4 separate regions of the Homo sapiens genome follow, and all the other regions are linked to region 1. Evidence: promoter capture Hi-C in 16 types of primary human blood cells and fetal thymus (Javierre and others, 2016). All regions are on one chromosome and are shown on one strand. Each heading gives the region's core, a stretch centred on a gene start or on the middle of the fragment in contact. The rest is flanking DNA. Distances are from core to core; before and after follow the strand shown.

Region 1 (5,655 bases), core at 2,928-5,427:
CATCCTAGTCACTTTCCTCCACCTCTCCACTCTCATTTATCTTTCCACCCAACAATAGCATCCAAGTGTCAGCAGAGGGCCCAGAGATGGGCAGGTGAGTCAGAGGTTGAACCTCCTTCTGAGCCTTTACCCTCCTCTGTCCCAACCTCTTGTGGCTATCTGTTTAGGTTAATAACTGCCAGGCAGCCGGAGAGGAGAGCAGGAAGACACAAGTTTCTCTGTGGTTTCCTTTCCTTATTTCAGGACTCCCCAAGCCTTTACCCATCCCATCAGCACCCACACACACACACACGTGCATTTTAATAATGTAATAATCCCTCTATAAGTCTCAGTTTCCAATTCCAAGCATCGTTTACCTTCATCCAAAACAACAGCAACCCATTATGGATCCAGTGAATACAGAGACCAGGCCAATCCCTGGGGAAGGCAAGGCTTTTCTACAGCCCCCACTTGGCAGTCTCATTAGGGGCACTAGGGAGACATAGGAATCTCTGCGCTCTTTAAATAAAGGCCCTGCCAAGAGAGCTGGAGATTCCCCTACTATTTCCTTGCCCCTGCTAAAGCCTCCAGGAGAGAGAGATCTGGGGGCCTCCATAGCTGTCATCACACCTCCTCTTGGCACTAAGTTGGCAGTCAGCAAAGGAAGTAAATAGGAGGGGAAAATAGTTTTCCAGTGTTTTCTCTCCATTTTTATTTTCATCTTCACAGCAGAATTTTTTTTTCCACAAGGGGAATCTGAGAAGTACAATGCTTTCTTTGTTTTAACAAGGCCTGGGGAAATTCCACTGGCCTCAGTGGCTGATGATCTGGTCAGGGTTCGAGAGAGGACAACAGCTTCTTGGATATTCCTGTTGGTAAGGCCTTCAGGGAATGGCTGGGTGAACAGCCAAGGGAGAAAGGGAAGGGATGGTTTCTATCATTGGATTGAACTGTAAAGGAGCTGCAGGGTGACAGATGTTGGCAGGAATTCCAGTAGAGTTTGTGTGTACAGTGACTCCCTAGCAGGGCTGACACCTGCACAGGCTAGGTGTACACCCTAGCAGAAGGAAAGGTTGCAACATCACCAAGGTGGGGCATTTGCCAGAGGTACATACCAGGGCATTTGCCAGAGGTACATACCAAGGCATTTGTAAAGCTGAGGCTGCTGGTAAAGTTCCAAGAAGCCCTTTTTAAGGCTGAGTAGAGGGAGGAGAAGCCAAGGGCAACCCAAGGCCATCTCACCACTACTCCGAGGAATGGTCCATGGAGACAACAGATTCAAGAGCACATATAATGCAAGTTCCTTGATTCATGCTGTCTATTGGCTGGGAACTTTGAGCTCTTCCTTGGAGGAGGGAGGGTGATCAGGTCAAGGAGGTAGGAACTTAGAGAACGCATTTGGTATGCTGCTGGTATGTAGAGAGAGAGTCATTCTATCCCTCTGGCTATCCCTTCCAGGCCAGCTTTTGCCATGCTTCCCTTCTTTCCCTCTACCCTGTTTCATGAGTAATCTGAAAGGCTTCGTATACTGGGTAGAGGGTGGGGAGGGAACTGCAGTCTGGGTGGGTTGTCACCTCTCTTACTATCCCAGAGCCCTGGTTATAGTTTCTAGAATTAATGAGCAACGTCATTGAGACCCGGGGCTCAAAGGAGCCAAGCAGTGATGACAGTGAGAAAGCATCAGTTCAGAAGGGACACGTCTTTCCTCTCTGAGCCTCCTTTGTTCCCACCTGGTCCTGATCCTCCCATAAAGGAGGGTCACACTGATAGGTCATCTGACCTTGCCTTGCTGCTGGCCTTACTAAGACGTCGCTTGTCACTATGATAGCCATGGGGAAGGCGGTGACCTGGTGAGACTCCATTGGGCACCTCAGGCTTCTGGCCATAACGAACCTGGATGAAACCTTCCCCAGGAGTCTGCTCCTGACCTCGTACTTGCTCGGTGACCAGGTTGTCTGTGTTTTGTTGGGAGGCCATATTATTGCTGAAGGGATTGAAGAATTTTCCCCCAGGGCCATTCTCCAGGCACTGATTAAAGTCGGGGGGTGGTGTGCAGCTCTGGACTATGCCCACAGAGGGGCCAGAAAGCTGGCACTTAGCCATGTGCTGCCGCGGTTTGACAAATCGCTGTCTGATCTTCTTCCAGCCCAGGTGGTAGAGTTCAGCCAGGCTAAGGAGGAGGGACAGTGCAGCCACAGCCAGCATAAAGACAATGAAGACATTCTTCTCTGTGGGCCGGGATACGTAACAGTTGACCGGGTGGGGACAGGGACTCCTGCGGCAGACATGCAGGGTGGTCAGGAAGATTCCGTAGATGAAGTACTGGCCCACAATGAAGCCCACCTCCATGGTGGTGCGGATCAGGATGCTGCACACATAGGTGTTGAGCAGAGTGCCCTGGAGGGCAATCCTTCCATTCCCTTCCTCCCAGCAGGACAGTTCTGCCTTCTCTGCCACCGGGTACTCGTAAGAGCCAGAGCCCCGGACCTCTTTGGCCCTCTCGGCCTCCCGTAGCTTGCGCTTCTCCTGCATGCGCACAGTGTGCATGGCGTGGCCCATGTACACCAGAGAGGGCGTGGAGACGAAGATGATCTGCAGCACCCAGTAGCGAATGTGGGAGATGGGGAAAGCCTGGTCGTAGCAGACATTCTGGCAGCCAGGCTGAATCGTATCACACCGGAAATCAGCCTGCTCATCCCCCCAGGAAGACTCAGCAGCTGTGCCCAGCACGAGCATACGGAATATGAAGAGGACAGTGAGCCAGACCTTGCCTACCACGGTCGAGTGCTTGTGTACTTCCTCCAGGAAATTTCCCAGGAAGCTCCAATCGCCCATCTTGGCACAGCCAGGGAACAGATGCCAAAACTTCTGCAAATGGGAGAGAGAGAAAGAGAGAAAAGAAGAAGGATGTTCTGTGAAGGTCTGGAATGTCTATCATGTTCTGGGATTCCACTGATCCATCCATCCAATGGGTTCTTTAAGAAAATGCAACTTAGAAGTCAAAGCAACCAACGAAAAGCTCGCTCTCCTTTCCCAGCAAAAATAAAAAGAAAGAGAAGATTCAAAGTAGCCATATTAGCAAAATTAGAGCATGGCTCCCACACTTTAACGGATCTAGAAATCGTGGTGTGTGTTACAATATGGATTCTGCTCTTGCCCCAGTAATTCTACTTCAGGAGGTCTGGGATGGCCCCCAGGAATCTGGATTTACAACAAGCAGCCCAAGTAATTCTGATGCAGGCGGTGAGGGACCGCACCTGGAGAAACACGAGTATTAAAAAGAACACAAGACTGGGGTCTGCAAATGTGACTCTGGGCATTTACCTCACTGAGTCTGTTTCTTCATTTATCGAATGGGGATGGGAATAGCTACACCAGAGAATTCTGAGGATTAAATGATATGAGGTGTGTGATATTCTGAAAATCATTCCACAACTGTTCCAAATGTTTAAATGGCTGTTGGATGGAAAAGGAATTTTTTTATGGCTCCAGAGGGCAGAACTAGGTGGAGGAGGAAAGAGTGAGGATGGGATTGGCAAATTTGGCCCCTCAGGAAGCACTCTGCAAAAATCAGAACCATCCAGCATGGACCAGCTGTGTTGGGAGGTGGCAAACAAAAAGTGTGCTTTGGTCACACCAGCTAACAGTATCACAGATGAGTGCTCACTTCCCCTGGCTGGTAAGGCAATGTTGATCTCCCATGCCTCGGTGCAACACAGCCATTCCAGCCACACAGCTCAGCTCGCCCTGCTGCTAAGTTTCTGTGTCTCATTTAAATAAGGTTCCCACACACAGATCTGCCCACCCTTATGTCCAGAATAAATGTCCCAAAACTTTATGTCCCTTACAAAATCCTCCCTCATCTGGCCTTTGTCTGCTTTTCCAGCCTGTTCCTGCCTGTCCACATGAGTTCCTTTTGTCCAGCCATGCCAAGTCTTCCCAAATGCCCTCCTTCTGTACCCCTACATGTCCCCTCACCCCTAGCTGAATCCCATTTACCTTTCAAAACTTAACCCAGTCATTGCCTCCTCCAGCCCTCCCTCCTCCCTCAAGCTGAGCCTCTTCAGCTCCTGTGATGGCCCCCGGGACACTTACTCGTCTCCCAGTGCTTGCTGCCTTGTGTTGTAATCCTCTGCCTGTCTGTGTTCTCCCAGGAGGGACTGTTTGAAAATGGAGACTGTCTTTTCTTCTGTATCACCAGAGCCTGGCCCAGAGTAGGTGTTTAATATATCTTAGTTGAGTGAATGAAGGAGGGGCTGACAGGCACTGTTGTTTCCTACCCAATAGAAAACCAATTCCCTGTTTCTTGCCTGCCTCCCATTGGCAGGGTGAAAAAGCCAGGTATCACTTTCTTAATCTCCTCTGCAGTTAGTTCTGGTAGGTGAGGTATGGGGAGAATCTAAAGTAGAGGGAATGCTCCAGAAAAGGTTTTTCTACCCCCCAGTAAATGGAGAGAGCCTCACTCACAGTGCTCCCATCCCCCTGTGAACAAGAGGGAACCTCACTCACAGTGCTCCCATCCCCTGGTGAACAGGAGGGAGACTACTCACAGTGCTCCCATCCCCCGGTGAATAGGAGTGAGCCTCACTTAGCCCCACCGCTTCCTGCCTGTGGACAGAGTTGTATGAACCAAGATGTCTAAAGCTGTCCAGAGAATCTCAGAAATGTCAACCAGTGCCCTGAGGCCTCTGAAGCAACTCTTGAGGCTCCCTACCTCCAGAATTCTTACTTAGTGAATAACGAATGTTCTTACAGTTTAAGCCTCTAACCATTCCTAACCAACAGGATGACAAACGTCTCGGAGGGAATGGAGCATAAATATTCCTTTCTTAGAATCATAAACCTCAGATTTGGGTGGGTCCTTAGAGGTTTGTCAAATTCAAACTTTGACCGTCATATCTTTGCTGCCAACGTGCTCCTGGTTTCTGTCTGAACATTCTTCATGCTTATGGGGAAAGATGGGGTCAGGGTGGTGCATTTCATAGTCCAGGCTTCCTCAGCTCTTGAGTTGATTGTTGCCTTGACAGGGACCAACCTCCTGGCCCTGTATTCTCTCAGACCCCAGGTCCCCAAACTTGAGAGTATACAGTGTCCCTGGGAATGAGGGAGTTCCTGAGTGAGCGGAAAGCATCTTATCTCTGCTCCTCTCTATATCAAAGACCCATGCAGGTCTTGAGGCCTTTCCTGTCATTTGTGATCAGACATCTGCCCCATTTCCTTAGGTGGCGAAGCGCCCCCTCTTTCAGCCTCCAAATGTGGAAAATTGTGGAGCATGTGCTCAAAAGGAAAATGGCTGATTAGATAAGAGTTTGAATTGTCTGTCCTCTCTTCTGGGCACATGTACAGTGTTCAGCACCTTCAGGGTCAGCCACACACGTGCAGTGACTGAACTATGGTAAATGTCTGAGAAAAAGAGGGAGGGAGAGAAGGGGAGGAATAAAAAGAAGAGAAGAAAAGGGAAGGACAAGGGAGAGTTGGAAATGGAGAAAAAGACCATGTAGGGTTAAGAAAAGACAGATGCAGGAGTTAGCTTACTGAGGTTTGACAAATTTCTATTACCATCTGCTGGGCTTAGATAAATGATTCAATCTGTGTTCCACTTTCCTCACCTGCAAAATGGACATACTATTAACTCATAGAGTGCTATGAGATGATGCGTGCAAAGCACTTAACACA
Region 2 (5,501 bases), core at 2,739-5,238, 250 kb before region 1:
ACCTAACTTGCCCAGAGACATATGGCCAGAATATACTCTCTCAACAGAACAACATGCTTCTTCAACTCCTTTATGGGTTCTCCTTCTCTTCTTTTTACTTTTGAAGTTCCTTGGAGCTCTATCCTGGGCCTGTTTCTCCTCTGTCTACTCTCCCTGGCAATCTCAGCTACTTCTTTGTCTTTAATAACCAACCATGTAGCAATAGTTCCATATTGCCATCTTCAGCCCATGCTCCTCTCCTGAGATCCAGATCTTTGTCTTCAACTACTTACTGGACAGTGTGATACATGATGTTTCCGACATGACATGTCTTAAACTGCATTAGTCAACTCTCCCTCAAAACCTGCTTTTCCTCTCAGGCTTCCTACCTCAGTAAAGTCATCCACCCACTGCCATCCACCAACTGCCATCCGCCAACTGCCCAAGTGAGAAAGCTCAATGTCGTCTTCTTTACCTCTCATTCATCCTTCTTAACATGGCTTCCAAGACCCTTCAAGACTTGGTTCCTTCCTCTTTCCAGTTTCATTTCTTCCGATTCATCCCCTGACATTCTTCATCCAGCTGTGATCACCAAAGTGTGGGTCCTAGAGTAAGGCAAATTCACTTGCTTGCTTTCTCTGATTTTCTCTGACCTTCTCGTGTCTGGGTCTGCAATAAATTGTACCTCTAGCTGTAACATGCTTCCATCTCTTACCCCTCACCTAAGCTCATCTTTATTTACTAGGTCTCATCTTAAATGTCACTTCTTTTGAAAATACTTGCCTAGACCACCTCAGATCTTCCTGCTGGCTGTGCCCAGCTACCCTTACCGAAGCATAATCCTGTCAATGGCAATTACTTTTCAACTGTTGATATAGTCTTGTCTATTGTAGTATCTCCAGTATCCAGCACAGTGCCTTGTGCATAAAAGGCTCTCAAAATATGTTGAGCAAATGAATGAATTATAAAATAGAGTTAGCTAAAACTACTTCTCAGTAACATTAGGTAACTGTGGAAATTATGAGATAATATGTGTGATTATACTTTGTAAACTGTAAAATTCTAGAACAAACTCCATAGTGATAAAAAGAATTATGCATGGTTGATCTCCCACACTTTTCCAGATTCTTCATCCCCTTTCTGGACCCACTATCTCCTCAATAGCCAAGAGATCTTGATGTATCAAAGTCCCATAAGGGGACTCCAGCTGAGATTCCCCCCAGGTTCTCTCACTTTGAGGCTTCTTTCTGACCCAGGAGCTACTTAGGTAAGTTGTCTTCCATATCATCTCTGTCAGTTCCATGCTGAACTTGGCTCAATCAGCAGCTACTGACAAAACCACTCTTCCATACCTATACCTCTGCTCTGGCCCAATCCAATTTGGTTCTTTAAGCTGATTCTCCCCACTCACTTTACCCTCTAATCTGCCAGGACACTTAGTGACTGAGGATTAGACTTTTCACTGAGGATTAGTGTCTTGCCCTACCACCCCAATGGTCCCTCTTGCTTTCACTTGCTACAGAAACTTTACGAGAGAAGGACATCCTAACCTAAGGTTCTCCTGGCCATAGAGAAGCTAATTTGGAGAAGATTACGATGTTGATACATTTTTAAAGCAAACCCTCAATGAGTTGATTACTGAGTGAGGGAAGCTGATGTGGGTATGAGAAAAGGGAGACAAGGAGAAACAAGGAGTATCTGTGAGGGTATGAGAGTTGTTGGGGGAGGAGGAGCATGAATTCGATCCTCCCTGGTGATGCACTGTTTCCTCAGTGATAGCCCGTCTCTCCAACAGCAGGGTAACTTCTCTGGCTGGCTCCCAGAGAATGGGTGTCCCATTCTCAACCAGCATCACCTAAGACACACTTGGATACAGGGTTGCTTATCCAGAACCATCCCTGAGTTTAGAGGCCCAAATCGGGGATAATCTCAGTGATTTTTTTTTTTAATCATCACCAGGGATATTTGGGAAAGTCAATCACTGTATCAGCTAGTGGTTTCAACTTATAAAAACAACCACAATTGCAACAGCAAAAACCTCTGATTCACTCACATAAAGAGTGTGTAGACGGGCCTTCCTTTCTACTTCAACACCTGCTCCTCAGACTCACCCCCTTTGTGACTTCTTGAAAAATGCCTTGGGTGTTCATTAACCTGATGTAACCAATATAAATATGTTAGAGGAAAGCACTCAATGTTATCTGTCCTGGACCATCCTTGCCAGAGAAGGACAAGCTCTTAATACCATAGGAGATTGTTTATCTGAAAAATCTAACCACTGGAAGCATCCAAGGACTGTTTATACGCTAAATTTATTTTCTTTTTTTTAGGCAATATGTTCACATGTGGAATTAACATTATCTAAATTCCAGAGAAAGTGCTGATTGGACATTCAAGGTGAACAGTCCTCCTTTACAGTCCCTGAGCTCAGGCACCTTCCCTTCCCTCAGGCCCTTAATGTCTCTCTCCCCTATAGGCTCTTCTTCCCTTCTGGCTTCTGTTGCAGCACCTCTTTCTACCACACACCCCCATCCTCAGCCCAACACAGCATTGCTTACAAAACACTCAAGGTGCTAAACTTACCTGCACCTTTGTGTGTTTTTACTGCGTAATTTAAGGAAGTGACAGAACTGTCATAATGTGTGAGTTTAAGTCTCTGAGTTTTAAATTCAACACAAAAGTAAAACAAGGGGCTCATGAAGATGAGAAAGGTAGCAGACATATTTCATAATTTTTCAAGATATTACTCCTGGAGCCTTATGTTTTTTTCCTCCCGAAATCCTTGCATAACAACTAGACAGAATGATGAGCAGTGGCACCTTGGAAGGCAGCCAGTCTCACAGTATTAGAGAGATAATACAATTTTAGAACTGGAGGGGACCTCAGACCTGATTTAGTCCAACATTCTCATGTTAAGATTAGGACAGTGGGGCCCAGGGAAGTGTTGTGATTTGCTCAAGGTCGCATAGGGGATTTGGTGGAGCAAAAGCCCTCTGGGCATGCAAGGCCATACTATCCAGATTCAGGCAGGGCTTGACTGGCAGCAACGGGGCCTGTGCAGAGAGCCAGAAAGAGGCAGTGATAAAGAAAGTGAGGCTGCAGGGTGCCTGGGGAAAAGAAGCCGGGAAGGATCACAGAGGAAGATGCCTTTGAAGCACAATTTCAAACTAAGTGGTCAAGCTTGCAACATTTGGAGCATGAGGGTTACCAGATGGGCCTGGGATGGGCAGCAATCAGGCACTGGGGGATTCAATGGGAGTCAAGGCAACCAGAAGAAGCTGAGTCAAAGAGACTGATGTGCAAACCACATATGGCTCTCCATATAGTAGCTACAGCTGCAAACCCAAGGTCAGTGTTTAGATTTACAGGTGTGTGGATAAGACTTTTGGTCAGGGCCGGGTGCAGTGGCTCATGCCTGTAATCCCAGCACTTTGGGAGGCTGAGGCAGGTGGATCACGAGGTCAGGAGATCAAAACCATCCTGGCTAACACAGTGAAACCCCGTCTCTACTAATAATACAAAAAATTAGCCTGGCGTGGTGTCGGGTGTCTGTAGTCCCAGCTAGTCGGGAGGCTGAGGCAGGAGAATGGTGTGAACCCGGGAGGCGGAGCTTGCAGTGAGCCGAGATCATACCACTGCACCCCAGCCTGGGTGACAGAGCGAGACTCCATCTCAAAAAAAAAAAATGACTTTTGGTCAGCATCAGTCACCTCAGCCAGGTCCCTGAATCACAGCCAAGCCTAGATGAGTGGTATTATTGACCATGATAATGGGAGGATGAATGGTGGCTATGACTGCCTGCTGCAATCAACCTTTAGGATGGCCAGAAATTCTGATTTGGCCAGCCCTTGGCCCAGACAGCAATGTCCCCAAGACACAGTGATCACTGTGAACAGAAGCAGCTTCCATGACAAAGGCCACATACACAGCCCTGTGATCGAGGAGACCACTTTGTCATGGGTCAGAGCTCAGGTTAAGATAGACCTTTGGGGGTGTGGGGAATGGAGACAGTGAGGAGAGCACAGAGCTGCAGAGTGGAGAGAACTGAATTGACTATTTTCAAATCTTATGGATTCAGAAGCTGTCGATGGAGCAGTAGCAAAACATTCGTGCCACTGATACTAAAATGGCAAATCTCTCAACAACTTTATTGCCAGTATATTCAGAAGGTTTTGTCAGAAATCTTGAGTAAGTGACTTAACTTTGCTGTGTGTCAGGCTAAATCAATGCAATGCAAAAACATCTGGATGAAAATGAAGCATCTCTGTCAGTTGTCTGGGTGTTTTGTCTACCTGACATCAAACAGCTGGATTCTTGTAAACATTTCGATGATGCACTAAATTTTTCATTTTTCACTCAGATCACAAAATCATAGACTCTCCAGCTTGACAGGAACTTAAAGGTCATCTAATCCCTGATATTTGGCATAGCCTCAAATGACCTATTTTGTATTATCACGCAAATCAAACACTAAGATAGGGGTATGTGTTCTGTCTAATTACACACATTGTATCTTATTTAAAAACATGTTTAACATTTGGTTCTCCTTGGCTGTTTAATTGAATTGTAAATGAATCATTTACAGGGGAAACTAGATTATTATATGTATAAAAATACAATGAAATCCTGTAATTAGGCCAGACCTGATCTACAAAAAAAGAAAAAAAACTGCAGGTGTGTAAATGCTTGTGAACTTTGGTGCTATGTTCAACACAAAGCCAAGAGGCTATGTGAGTTACCGTCACTCATAGAACTACCTGCTTAGTTTCACAAGGAGAGCAGTTTGCAAAGAAGTTTGCTTTAGCTCTTTTTCACTTCTTACTTATTCCTGCCATTTAACAAGCTTACACCAGGTGTCTGTTTCTAGACTGAGACAAGCAAAGTAAGGGCAAAGGACTGTGAAATTCATTAACTCCAGAGATCTGTTTCAGCATCTGAATCTTTCTCATCCAGATGGCCAAGGCTTCATCCCACCCCAACCCCCTTTCATATTCAGAGAGTTCCTTTAAAAACATTCACCCAATCACAGCTTCATAGAGAAGACAGCTAAGGAAGCTTTCTTACCCATAGATTGAGCTCCTGGTCTAAAGTATGTGTTTAATTTCCCTGAAAGTCTGCACAGAGTTTTTCATTTTTTACAAATTGTTCTTTGAGCTATTGTCTCATTTATACTAGTAGGCAGCATAGAAATGGGGACAGCCAAATTAAGATATAGGAGCAAATAGGGAGTATTTTCCAAAACTAGATAATGTGTGCATGCTGAGTGAAAAAAAAAATGGTAATCTGGGGAGAAAAAGTTAGAAGGTCCAGAAAAAGGAAGAAAGGGTGAAATGAGGTGATGAGTCAATGAGGCAGGGAGATCTATGAAGACTGTTCTGGATGGCAGGAGATGTAGAAAAGAAGGTTCTTACATTTGCAGTGATGAAAGCTTATAATGGGCAAGGGGGAGGCATAGTAAATCAGTCAGCCAGCCAGCAGCATGTGCTGGGTGCCCACAGTGTACAGAGCATTCTTGATACTAA
Region 3 (5,165 bases), core at 1,184-3,683, 130 kb after region 1:
GAAGTGAAATGATGTATATAAAGGTGCCAGCCTTATAATGTACATTTAATAAGTTATGACTATTTTAAAAGGGATCTTCAAGTTTTGTAATAATGTTGGTGTTCACATCTGCATATGCCTAACTGTTAGCATAGAACTGGTGAATGAGAAATGCATTGTGTCAATTCCTGAAAGTATGAGTGATGGACAGTAGCAGACCTTTCTGCTCATAATTTTGGTCAAGAAGTTGTGCTTTCTTATTTTTTTGTGAGATTTCCAACCAAAATAGATGATGAACTCATAAATATGAACTGGTCTCTGTGCTCCAGCAACTGATAGAAGCATTTCTCAACCTATTCCCACCCACTCCTGGGCCTTTCCCACTCACCAGGTAGAATTTTGAGAAAGAAATTGGCCTCCTTCAAGAGAGAAAGTTCAGGCAGAAACAGCACCCCAGGCATTACACAGGAGCAATCTTGTGCCCATTCAGAGACTAACCACAATCCAGATGAATCCAGACAAAGCCTTAGTTAGCACTTCACAGTTTTCAAAGGGCTTTCATATTTCTCACCTCCTGGGCAAGGCCAACTCTTCATTATACCCATATTTAGCACTCTGTATATGTCTTCATTGTGATGACGATGATGACTTTTTTTTTTTTTTTTTTTTTTGAGACAGAGTCTCACTCTGTTGCCCAGGCTGGAGTGCAATGGCACGATCTTGGCTCACTGCAACCTCTGCCTCCTGGGTTCAAGTGATTCTCCTGCCTCAGCCTCCCACGTAGCTGGGATTACATTCACTGGCCGTCATGCCTGGCTAATTTTTGTATTTTGTAGAGAAGGGGTTTCACCATGTCGGCCAAGGTGGTCTTGAACTCCTGACCTCAGGTGATCTGCCCACCTCAGCCTCCCAAAGTGCTGGGATTACAGGCATGAGCCACCACGCCTGGCCCATTGTGATGATTATTAATTAGATGATAATGATTGCTCACGTGTATTATTTCTTCAGTGTCTATCTCCAGGAGGACAAGGACCATGTCTAACTAGTTCAGCATTGTATTTCCAGCTCCTAGCCCAGTGCCTGGCACGTAGTAGGTACTCAATAAATATTTGTTGAATGAAAAGAAGCTGTAGCATTCATATGCCCATCACTCTCTAATGAAATATTTACAATTGAGCTAACAGGTCTAGTTCAAAAATTTATCTACTGCCAAAACAAATATCATGACATTTTTCAGAGTCAAAAGCAAATCTCTTTTTGGCTAATCCAGGTTACTACTTCATAGATAATCAGAAAAGGACTACAGACACCCCTAACCCTCACTGCTAATGAATCATCTTCCCATTTAAGAAGTTAGCGGACTATTTTCTTTCCAGTTTCATGTCATCAGTTTTACTTAAACAGTTGTCAACCCTAATGGGTTGTTTCTCCAAATTAATTCTTCTTGCTTTTTTAGGAAGATTTATAGCACATCACCCTCATTCTGATCTTTTTATTGTCCAAGATTCTCCTCCTATAAGATAACCATATGATTTAGAGACTGGCTTAAATGGCCCAGGACCTAGAATTCATAATATATATTTTTCAAATTTTAGGAAAATTTCAGATTTTTCCTGACTACTCTCTCCTGATTCCTACCCACAATGATTTCTTTTTTCTTTTCTTAAAATTTTCTTGTTGGAGACTCTAAAAATAAATAATCAGAGAGGTGCTGTATTCCTGGTGTTACCCCAGATTCACTGCAGCTGTGACGAAGGCTGCCAACACCGTCTAATGACACATTAAATACACTGTCTATGACTTGTCCTGTCAGGCAGAGCCAAAAGCTACTTTGATTAATTTTTATTTTTAAATGCAACTGCCATGTGGATATAGATCCTGCTTTTGTGACCTTTGGGCAGGGCACGTAATCTGTCTCTTTCACCTACTCTTCTACCTGCAAAATTGGTTTGACAATAAAATCTTTCTTTCTAAACTGATATGTAGTAAAAGATAAACTATACAGGAGCACTAGTGAAAAGATGCCATGCAAGTGCCTCAAAGTGATCTGTTTTCTGGACTCTCTGTGGCACATCTTGCATCTCTAACCAGTCTCCCTCAGCCATGTTCTAAGCCCCAGCCCCAGCATTAACCAGTTGTACAAGTAACAAATACAGATTCACCTTACTGCAAACTAAGTCAAATAAGAAAATAATTCTCCTGCTAACTAAAACACGCATCTTAGTATTCTAGAGCAAAATGCAGGTAACTTTTGGATAATCCAAACCACAGCTTTATAGGCAGTGATGACCAGCCTTCTTTGAGTACTCAGCATATGCCAAGAACTGTTTTCAGTGCACTGCATACATTATCTATTCAGTCCTAAGTACCCTGTGACATAGCTGTGATTATTAAACTTCATTTTTAGCCAGGCATGGTGGCTCATGCCTATAATCCCCGTGCTTTGGGAGGCTGGGGTGGGAGGATCACTTGAGGCCAGGAGCCTGAGACCAACCTGGGCAACACAGCCAGACCTTGTCTCTACAGATTTTTTTTTTCTAATTAGCTGGGCATGGTGGCACATGCCTGTAGTCCTAGCTACTCAGAAGGCTGAAGCAGGAGGATCACCTGAGCCCAGGACTTCAAGGTTACAGTGAGCTATGATTGTGCCACTGCACTCCAGCCTGGATAACAGGAGAGAGGCCCTGTCTCAAATAAATAAATTGCATTTTACATCTGAGAAGACTGAGGCATATAGAAATCAAATGGTTTTCCTGAGCTCACACTGACGGTAAGTGGTAGAGCTCAGATTTGAGTCAGCTGGCTTAGCCTTTATACTCCACTGCATTTCAAGATAATGATAACAACCATTTATGTGCCAGCAATTGGGCCGAGTACTTTAACATAGATTATCTCATTAAGTTCTCATAATAATCATCTCCATCTACAGATGATAAAAATGAGATTTAAAAGGGTTAATTTGCCACCTATCACAGAGCTAGTAAGTGATAGATTCTGAGCCAGAATTATAGAATTATAGCCAGATTATAGAGACTGACAACAAAAATACTAAACCATGTTGTGAAAGCCAGTGATGGCTCTACCTACAGTCTTCCATGGAAGACTCCCTCATCGTTTACAAGGACATGAAAATGTGTTTGCTGGACCTAGTGGGGAGAGAAATTCCTCTGCACTCTCCACTCTAATGGGTTTACAGGTAGGCCAAGGGCAAAATGAACTCCTGAGTAGGAGCCTGGAGTCTTTGTTGATGCAAGCTGTACCAGTGGATTTCAATTAGCCAGGAGGCTTTTGGAGTGCAAGCCCAGGCCATGGACAACTCACAAGAGAGAAGGTCCCAAAAGCTCCCCAATTCTGCCCCTAGCAACAGAGGCTTCCTGTAGCCAAGTCTGTCTCTGATTTGCAGGTGGGTGAGTTAAATTCACACAATCTCAGCCATAACTCTTAGAATGGGTTCTCCATTGCCCTAACCAGAAAGGCCCCAGAATGTTTGTCTCCAGTGATCAAGGCCTGCCATCTGCTGAAGTTTTGCCCTTTGCTTTGTCATCACATGAACCTAATGCTCTACAATTTACTCTGCCCTTTATCATCAAATATTGCCCCTGGTACAATCAGGGATACAGTAGAATTGTGCAGGACCAAAGGAAATAAGGACAGGTCTGAGAGAAGGGAGGGGATAGAGCAAAGAATCTTGAAACCCTCGGGTTGGTGATTCTGGATTTGTGGTGCTGTGGGAGACAGGGCAAATATTTCCGTGATAAAAGGGACTTCTGAATAGGAAGAAAAGTAAGAGGAGAAAAAGAGGGATACCCTCTGGGGCATCCAGTGCCACCAGTATAATGATCACTAAACAGGGTGAAAGGGAAGGCACCAGGAAACCGGCCCAGAGAGTGTGGTTATACAGTAAAATTAAAGCCAAGGTTGTCCCCCTTTGCATTTCCTGTCCTCCCAGCCCCTCCCATTTAGACCATATCCATCTTTTCCCGTGTGGAAAAAAAGAGTTCACTTGACTCTCCTTTGCAGACTTGGAGTAAGCCTCTTTTCTTTGCCCTCAGGCTCTGAAGGCGTCTACTACAGTGCGTGGAGCAAAAGAGAGACGGCATCGCCCCCTCGTGGCGCAGGGCCAAGCTCTGCGGTATTCCGGACGCTGTCCTGGGCTGCCCAGACAGGGGCACCCCGTGGGAGTGGAAATGCTGTCCTCAGAACCTCTGGCTGTTGAATGACTTGTGTCTTGTCAGAATGGTGAGATCCCCGAATGCCATCACCCTGTTCCTTCTACCCTCCCCATTGATGTTCACACAGGTCAGCTAAGCTAGACCTGTCTGCAGTGTGTTTTGAAAACAGGTTGCCCCTGCAAGAAAACTCCTGGTTTAGTAAATCAGCACATCAGGGCTAGAGAAGAAAAGAGTTGTGCTGTCTTTGTTTCCATTTCAGTCCATTCTGCCAAGTTGAAGCAGAATGATTTTCATTCATCTTAAATCCCCCCAAAATATTTTTTTTAAATAAACCTCTCAAACCAAACACCATCACATATGTACCCTAAGGAATACTAAGTCACCTCTTCAGGCAACGGAAAGAAAGGACCAGAGAATTGCTGTCAAGCCTAGGGTGGGTGGAGGAGGCAGGGAATTAATTTTGTTGAGTGGATAAAGGTCTGGGCCTCAATCCCAAAAGCCCAGATTGGGGCATCGAGCCTACAGCACCCCTGTCAGTCACTCCCTGCTGTCCCTGGAGCCTGGGCAGGCAAACAGTCATCCTTCTGCACTGTCTCTCTGGGACAGCCGGAACCTTTGCCCCCATCCCGAGGTCACCCTCTCCCAGAACCTCCTCTGCCTCTGGTAAGAGGAGGTAAAAGGAAGGGGGACACAGGAGGTCCATCAGAGCATGGATGAAGCTGCCCCTACATCAGAGTGCAGAGCTTGGAGTCTAGCCCCATCCTGGCCAACACAGAAGCAGGGAGTGAGAGAGGCAAAAACGAGGAGCCAGCCTGTTTCCATAGATACAGATTTCAGTTGCATTTTATGACAGCCGTGCCAGGCTGCCTGGAGAGGCATTGTTTGGATGTCTAGGGACCCGCTCAGAAGGAAAATGAAGTAAGAAGCGATTTTTTTAAGATTCAAGTGGTTTCCCCTCCCAGTTTCAGATTGAGATCCACCTCCGCCCTCTGGCCTTCTGGCAGAGGTCATCCC
Region 4 (5,624 bases), core at 1,785-4,284, 230 kb before region 1:
TCAGAGGACAGGGCAATCACTGAAAGATTTCATATGAAAGGACATATTACATTTGCATTTTAGAAAGATAATAAATAATAACATTGTCTTACATTATTTACACTATTTAGGGCCAACTGTGATTTAAACATCGAGCCTCACAATAATGTCTATCATCTCCAGAGAGATGCATGCACTGTTGCCCCAAGTCAGTTGAGTAGTAAGGAGCAGAAAGATGCTCTGTCTCCTGGGCCAAACTCTTAACCCTTATACTCTGCTACCTCTGCAGCGTGGAGGAGGGAGGCAAGGAGATGGTAAGGAAAGAGGCAGGAGCCGAAGTCAGAATGAAAAATAATGAAGCCAGAACTAAAACAGTAGGGGTGAGAATACAGAGAAAGAAACAGAATCCAGAAATATTGAGTAAGTAGGCTCTACCGGATATTAGGATTGATTAGATGTAGGGAGAAATGTGGAGGGAGGACTGGAATGGCTCCCAGGTTCTGCTCCTCTAAGTGTGTCTCTTGTGAGGCTGTTATCAGTGAGAGGAACTATAGGAAGTAAAGGAGGTGAGGAGATAATGAGTTGAGGAAGCTGTGGGACTCCATGGCAGAGATCCTAGTGGGGAGTGGGATAGACCCAGCTGGAGCTTCGGAGCCAGGAAAGGGCTGGAAGAAGAGACTGGGAAATCTGATGGATTGGCTGGGGCAGGGCGGGCTGATTAGGTTGTAGGAAGCTAAGATGACAGGATAACATATGGACTTGAATTTGAAGACTGTAAGGAGTTGCTAAGGCCTTTTGATTACAGAAGCAACATGGTCAGTAACAGCCTTTCAAATGTCAAGCCTCAAACTAAAATATCCAAGAACTGACATGGAACTTTATTTCCAACCTTCCCTCCAGTCTCTGGTGAAAGCAACACCTCAGTATGGATGGTCCAGTCCCCCATGCTCAGGGTGAAGACCAAGTTCTGGGGGGCTTAGCGGACACTGGGGAAGGGAGCTGGTCCTTGACCACTTTCCCCCTCGTGCCCCTGGGACATCCTCATCCTGTAGGTCTGCTCCACAAGGGCCCCAGCCACAGCACCTCGTGAGGGTTGCGAGATCTTTCCTGGTCTGGAAGTGGTGAAGGGCTGGAACCCCTGGATTCACAAGCACTTGTCTCTTTGCTTTGTCCCTCATATTACCTGATGGATATAGGATGAAAGATGAAAAGGAATGTTGGGAGATGAAGCAGAGGTGGGAAATATTAATAATATCTTGAATATTACCCTGCCATTTAATTAAAATCATATTTTGGGAAAACCAGTTCACAGCACTGGACAAGGTCTAATGGAGGAGGGAGAGGACAGGGGAACAGGCAGACCAACTTAGAGACTATTGCAGTAACGGCAGGGTTGTGCAGGACTGCGTAACTTACAGTGCACTTTGACCGCTCATTTGATCCTCACAGTGCCTCTGCAAGTTGGCCTTACTAGCCCCATTTTACAGATAGGGCAACCAAGAGAAGTTAGCTCAATGAGGCAAAATCATCTGGCTAGCAAATAGAAGAGCTCAGGCTTAACACCTTGGTCTTCCAATAAAAACCTTTAGGAGAAAAAATAATCCCTTCCTCCAGTACATTCATCACCTGCTGCACATCCCACAACACCAGGCTGCCTCTCGGGAATAAGGTGCTCTAAACATCAGAGCCTAAACGTGCATTTGGAGGCTCTGTCTTCAGAGAAGATCCCACTGGGAAACAAGTCTGCACCACCTTAAAGGATTCCTCTGGGCTTTGGAAGGGATTTCCCACAGAGAGCTGCTTCCAATCATAACACATTGAGCCTTCTGCAAGGTCCCTGTGTAACTTAACTGTAGAGGCACAGTAGAAAGCCCACTCCAAAAACCATCCTCTGTTCCTGCCTAATGAATCCCTGGTATACGCTGTCAGAATTTAAGAGGCAGGTGTCGCTCCCCTGACGCTTTGAATAGGAACTTGTTCAAATCGTGTATCCTCTCTAGGAACAGTTTTTCAAGAGTGGTTTATAATTTTTCATCTGCAGCAGTAGTGAGGGGGTGGATTCAGAGGAAGAAGGAGGAAGTACTGACGGGGGAGGCAGGAAAAGAAATGCCATCCTGGATCAGAGCTGTGAACGTCAAAGGAGAGGGGTGATCCTCACCTCTGGAGATGAGAGACTGGAAGAGAATGCCTGTGAAGGTAAAGGAAAGAAAGAACTTAGATGTGGTAGGTGGAGCCTTCTCTATGGAGAGACACAGAAGAGGTTTCTATTTCCCCAGATGATAGCTAGTAGTCAAGGCTTCCTGCCCTCACCATCATCCTCTGCAGGCATCTCCACGTCAACCAGGCCAGGCCGCTCCTCTTTCTGCCCCACTCAGCACCCTCCCTCCACCTTTTCTCTAGCTTATGCAACCCAATATCTATACATTTGTTCATCTGGTTTACTCTTTCTTGATCACTCTCTACCCTTTGCTCTACTCCACTGATCAGAATCAAATTTAAGTGCCAAATGCCCTATAAGTCTGACCTGAAACTCCAGCCTACAGTGGTTCTTATTGCCTGTACCAGCAGTTCTCAAACCCTAGCATGCATCAGAATCACTCAGGGGGCATTTGAAAACACAGGTTTCCAGGACTCTCAGAGTTTCTGATTCAGTAGGTCTGGGCCACGGCCTGAGAATTTACCTTGCTAACAAGTTCCCAAATGACTCTTGCTGATGCTTCTTGTTTGGGAACCACTAACCTGTACCATTCGTTTAGCCTTAATCATGCACTGCCCTGTGCTGATACTGTAACTGAGTATCCAGATGCAGCTGTGAACATATCAAAGGCAGTTATGTTGTAGGTACTGGGCTGTATCTCCCACAGGACTTAGCTAGCATACTCAGAGCAGGTACCCAAACCCAATATAATTTATTAATTGTTGTGAAAACTTAGTATTGGTTTTAGGTAAAATTAGGAAGACAGTAGATTGTCCACAGGAAGCTTCCACTTTCCCTCCTTCATTTCTCAACCAACTTCTGTGTCACTCACTCTTCCTCCTCCAAGCGACCCAGGCTCCCCTAAACATAGGCTTGTCCTAAATACCCAGAGCTCTCCCATTTGCCCCTCAAAGTTTACAGGCAAATCTCAGAGAAGCTTGACTGAGGCCGGACGTGGTGGCTTATGCCTGTAACCCCAGCACTTTGGGAGGCCGAGGCGGGTAGATCATAAGGTCAGGAGTCCAAGAGCAGCCTGGCCAACATGGTGAAACCTCATCTCTACTAAAAATACAAAAAAATTAGCTGGGCATGGTGGCGGGCACCTGTAGTCGCAGCTACTTGGGAGGTTGAGGCAGGAGAACCACTTGAATCAGGAGGGGGAGGTTGCAGTGAGCCGACATTGCACCACTGCACTCCAGCCTGGGCGACAGACCAAGAATCTGTCTCAAAAAAAAAGAAAAAAAGAAGCTTGACTGAGAAGTTAAGAGACAGCTGAGTGTATGAGCTTATTTAAATACTGATGGAGAGAGGCGCGCAGTGGTGCCAGTGTGGGAAAGAGAGGGAATAATGGCAGGTGGGATCCACAGTGCAAGGAGAAGGATTCGCTTAGACAGGAGCAGGGACACCTCTCCCACTGTAGATGGAAAAAGGAAAAGATAGGTTTAGATGCAAGAATAATGAGGCTTTAGATGCTAGGTGACTCCCAGCTCTAACATCTTGTGATTCCATGAAATTAAATTGCCACGGTGTCAGTGGCTTAATATGTCACCTCTCCCTGGCAGAGCTTTAACCCAAGGAAATGAATGTTTCATGAGAGGCTCTTAGGCTATGGGAGGCCTGCCAGTGGGACAGCAGGGCCTTCCCAGTGGTCTTGAATACCTGTTGCCCTGCTAGGCAAGGTGGGATTGGGAAAATGGGATAAATATATCCAACTGTGACAACGTAAGAACTACAGCAAGGCCACAGAGCTAATACATTCTGGAACCAGATTTAGAACTCTGTGTCACTCAAGCCCGCAGTCATCTGGTCCACCCAGTCATATTCTGACCACCTGAAATTGCAAGGGAGGGCTGGAAGTATTAGGAACAACTTCTTCCTAACCCTTGGGCTAGAGACTTGAGATGACATGCTCCATCCCAGATCCACACAGCCCCAGCCTATCTCTGGGGCTCTAAGAAACACCTGATAGTGACAGGAATAATAACAACAATAATAATTTATCTAATGCCTCCTCAATTAAACTAGCATGTAAGGTGCCTGGTACATTGTGCCAAAATCTGGATCATAGGAAGAAGTCAACAAATGTAAGCTGTCATCCTCCTCCTCCTCCTCTTTCTCATTATCACCACCTTCACTGTGTGCCAGTAACCATATTAGGTATTTTTAAGTATATTTTTTCCTGATTACAAAAGTAACCAGTGTTTAAAAATTCTAACAAGAAATGCATAATATAAAAAGTCCAAGTGTGGTGCACTAGAAAGAGAGGAAGCACATAAAATAGTTACTGACCCATTCCCTATATTAATAGTTACTGACCCATGCCCTATATTCAGTCACTTAAAAGCACAGCAGACTGTCTATGTTTACTTTCTGGTTCTTCTAATACTCACTGGGTGGTCTTATTTAACTTTTCTGTGCCTCAGTTTTCTTATTTGTTAAAAGAGAGCAATGATAGTTCTAACATCTAGAGTTCTTGGGAAATTTAAATAAGATGCGATACACATAAGGCAATGAACACAGTGCTCTGCACATAGTAAGCAGTCCATATAAAGTGGTTATTATTTATATTATTTTTTAATAAATAAAATTCTCCAAGATCCACATGTCAGAAGTAACCCATATTGGCCAGGCGTGGTGGCTCATGCCTGTAATCCCAGCACTTTGGGAGGCTGAGGCGGGTGGATCACTTGAGGTCAGGAGTTCAAGACCAGCCTGACCAACATGGCAAAACCCTGTCTCTACTAAAAATACAAAAATTAGCCGGGCATGGTGGCATGCGCCTGTAGTCCCAGCTACCTGGGAGGCTGAGGCAGGAGAATCGCTTGAACCTGGGAGGTGGAGGTTGCAGTGAGTCAAGACTGTGTCATTGCACTCCAGCCTGGGTGACTGAATGAGACTCCATCTACAAAAAAAAAAAAAAAGAAAGAAAAAAGAAATAATCCATATTGATAGCTTATTGCATACTTTTCAGACTAGATATATGTATATCTATATATACATTCTATGAGATCCAAAACATATACACTATTTTACATGTCTTTACTCATTTGACAAATAATTGTTGGATGATCTTTTTTTTTTTTTTTTTTTTGTAGATGGAGTTTCTCTCTTGTTGCCCAGGCTGCAGTGCAGTGGCGCGATCTCAGCTCACTGCAACCTCCACCTCCCAGGTTCAAGCGATTCTCCTGCCTCAGCCTCCCTAGTAGCTGGGATTACAGGCATGTGCCACCACGCCCAGCTAATTTTGTATTTTTAGTAGAGACGGGATTTCTCCATGTTGGTCAGGCTGGTCTCGAACTCCCGACCTCAGGTGATCCACCTGCCTCGGCCTCCCAAAGTGCTGGGATTACAGGCGTGAGCCACCGCGCCCAGCAAATATTATGGATGATTCTTAAAATAATCTTACAAAGTACTTATTGATACATGGTTTTGTTTCTATTATATTTCT

The links. Contacts are between HindIII fragments. The CHiCAGO score rates a contact against its expected background, and 5 or more counts as called.
Region 2: a contact is called between a fragment that was not itself captured here and the fragment with the promoter of GJA5 in region 1, in 4 of 17 cell types (total CD8 T cells, total B cells, total CD4 T cells and 1 more). The highest score is 6.6, in total CD8 T cells.
Region 3: a fragment that was not itself captured here is called in contact with the fragment with the promoter of GJA5 in region 1 in 4 of 17 cell types (megakaryocytes, endothelial precursors, naive B cells and 1 more); the score reaches 7.9 in megakaryocytes.
Region 4: a contact is called between a fragment that was not itself captured here and the fragment with the promoter of GJA5 in region 1, in 1 of 17 cell types (total B cells). The highest score is 5.7, in total B cells.

The regions. Positions count from the first base shown.
Region 1 is chr1:147,756,425-147,762,079 of GRCh38, forward strand. It overlaps GJA5 (gap junction protein alpha 5), which reads right to left and starts at 4,178. Exons shown (of 2, transcript NM_181703.4): 1 at 4,075-4,178; 2 at 1-2,847. The coding sequence starts at 2,814. The coding sequence ends at 1,738. All of the region lies in intron 1 of LOC102723321 (a long non-coding RNA gene), which reads left to right. RefSeq lists a silencer at 1,957-2,251. The HindIII fragment of the contact is 9,872 bases long and covers 1-5,655 here.
Region 2 is chr1:147,507,168-147,512,668 of GRCh38, forward strand. The region is part of intron 3 of LINC00624 (long intergenic non-protein coding RNA 624); the gene reads right to left. Among named protein-coding and RNA genes, the nearest start is that of LINC00624, 8.0 kb to the right of the region's middle. RefSeq lists an enhancer at 2,894-3,552. The HindIII fragment of the contact is 1,663 bases long and covers 3,158-4,820 here.
Region 3 is chr1:147,886,301-147,891,465 of GRCh38, forward strand. No RefSeq gene overlaps it. Among named protein-coding and RNA genes, the nearest start is that of GJA8, 14 kb to the right of the region's middle. The HindIII fragment of the contact is 7,221 bases long and covers 1-5,165 here.
Region 4 is chr1:147,526,099-147,531,722 of GRCh38, forward strand. No RefSeq gene overlaps it. Among named protein-coding and RNA genes, the nearest start is that of LINC00624, 11 kb to the left of the region's middle. The HindIII fragment of the contact is 153 bases long and covers 2,959-3,111 here.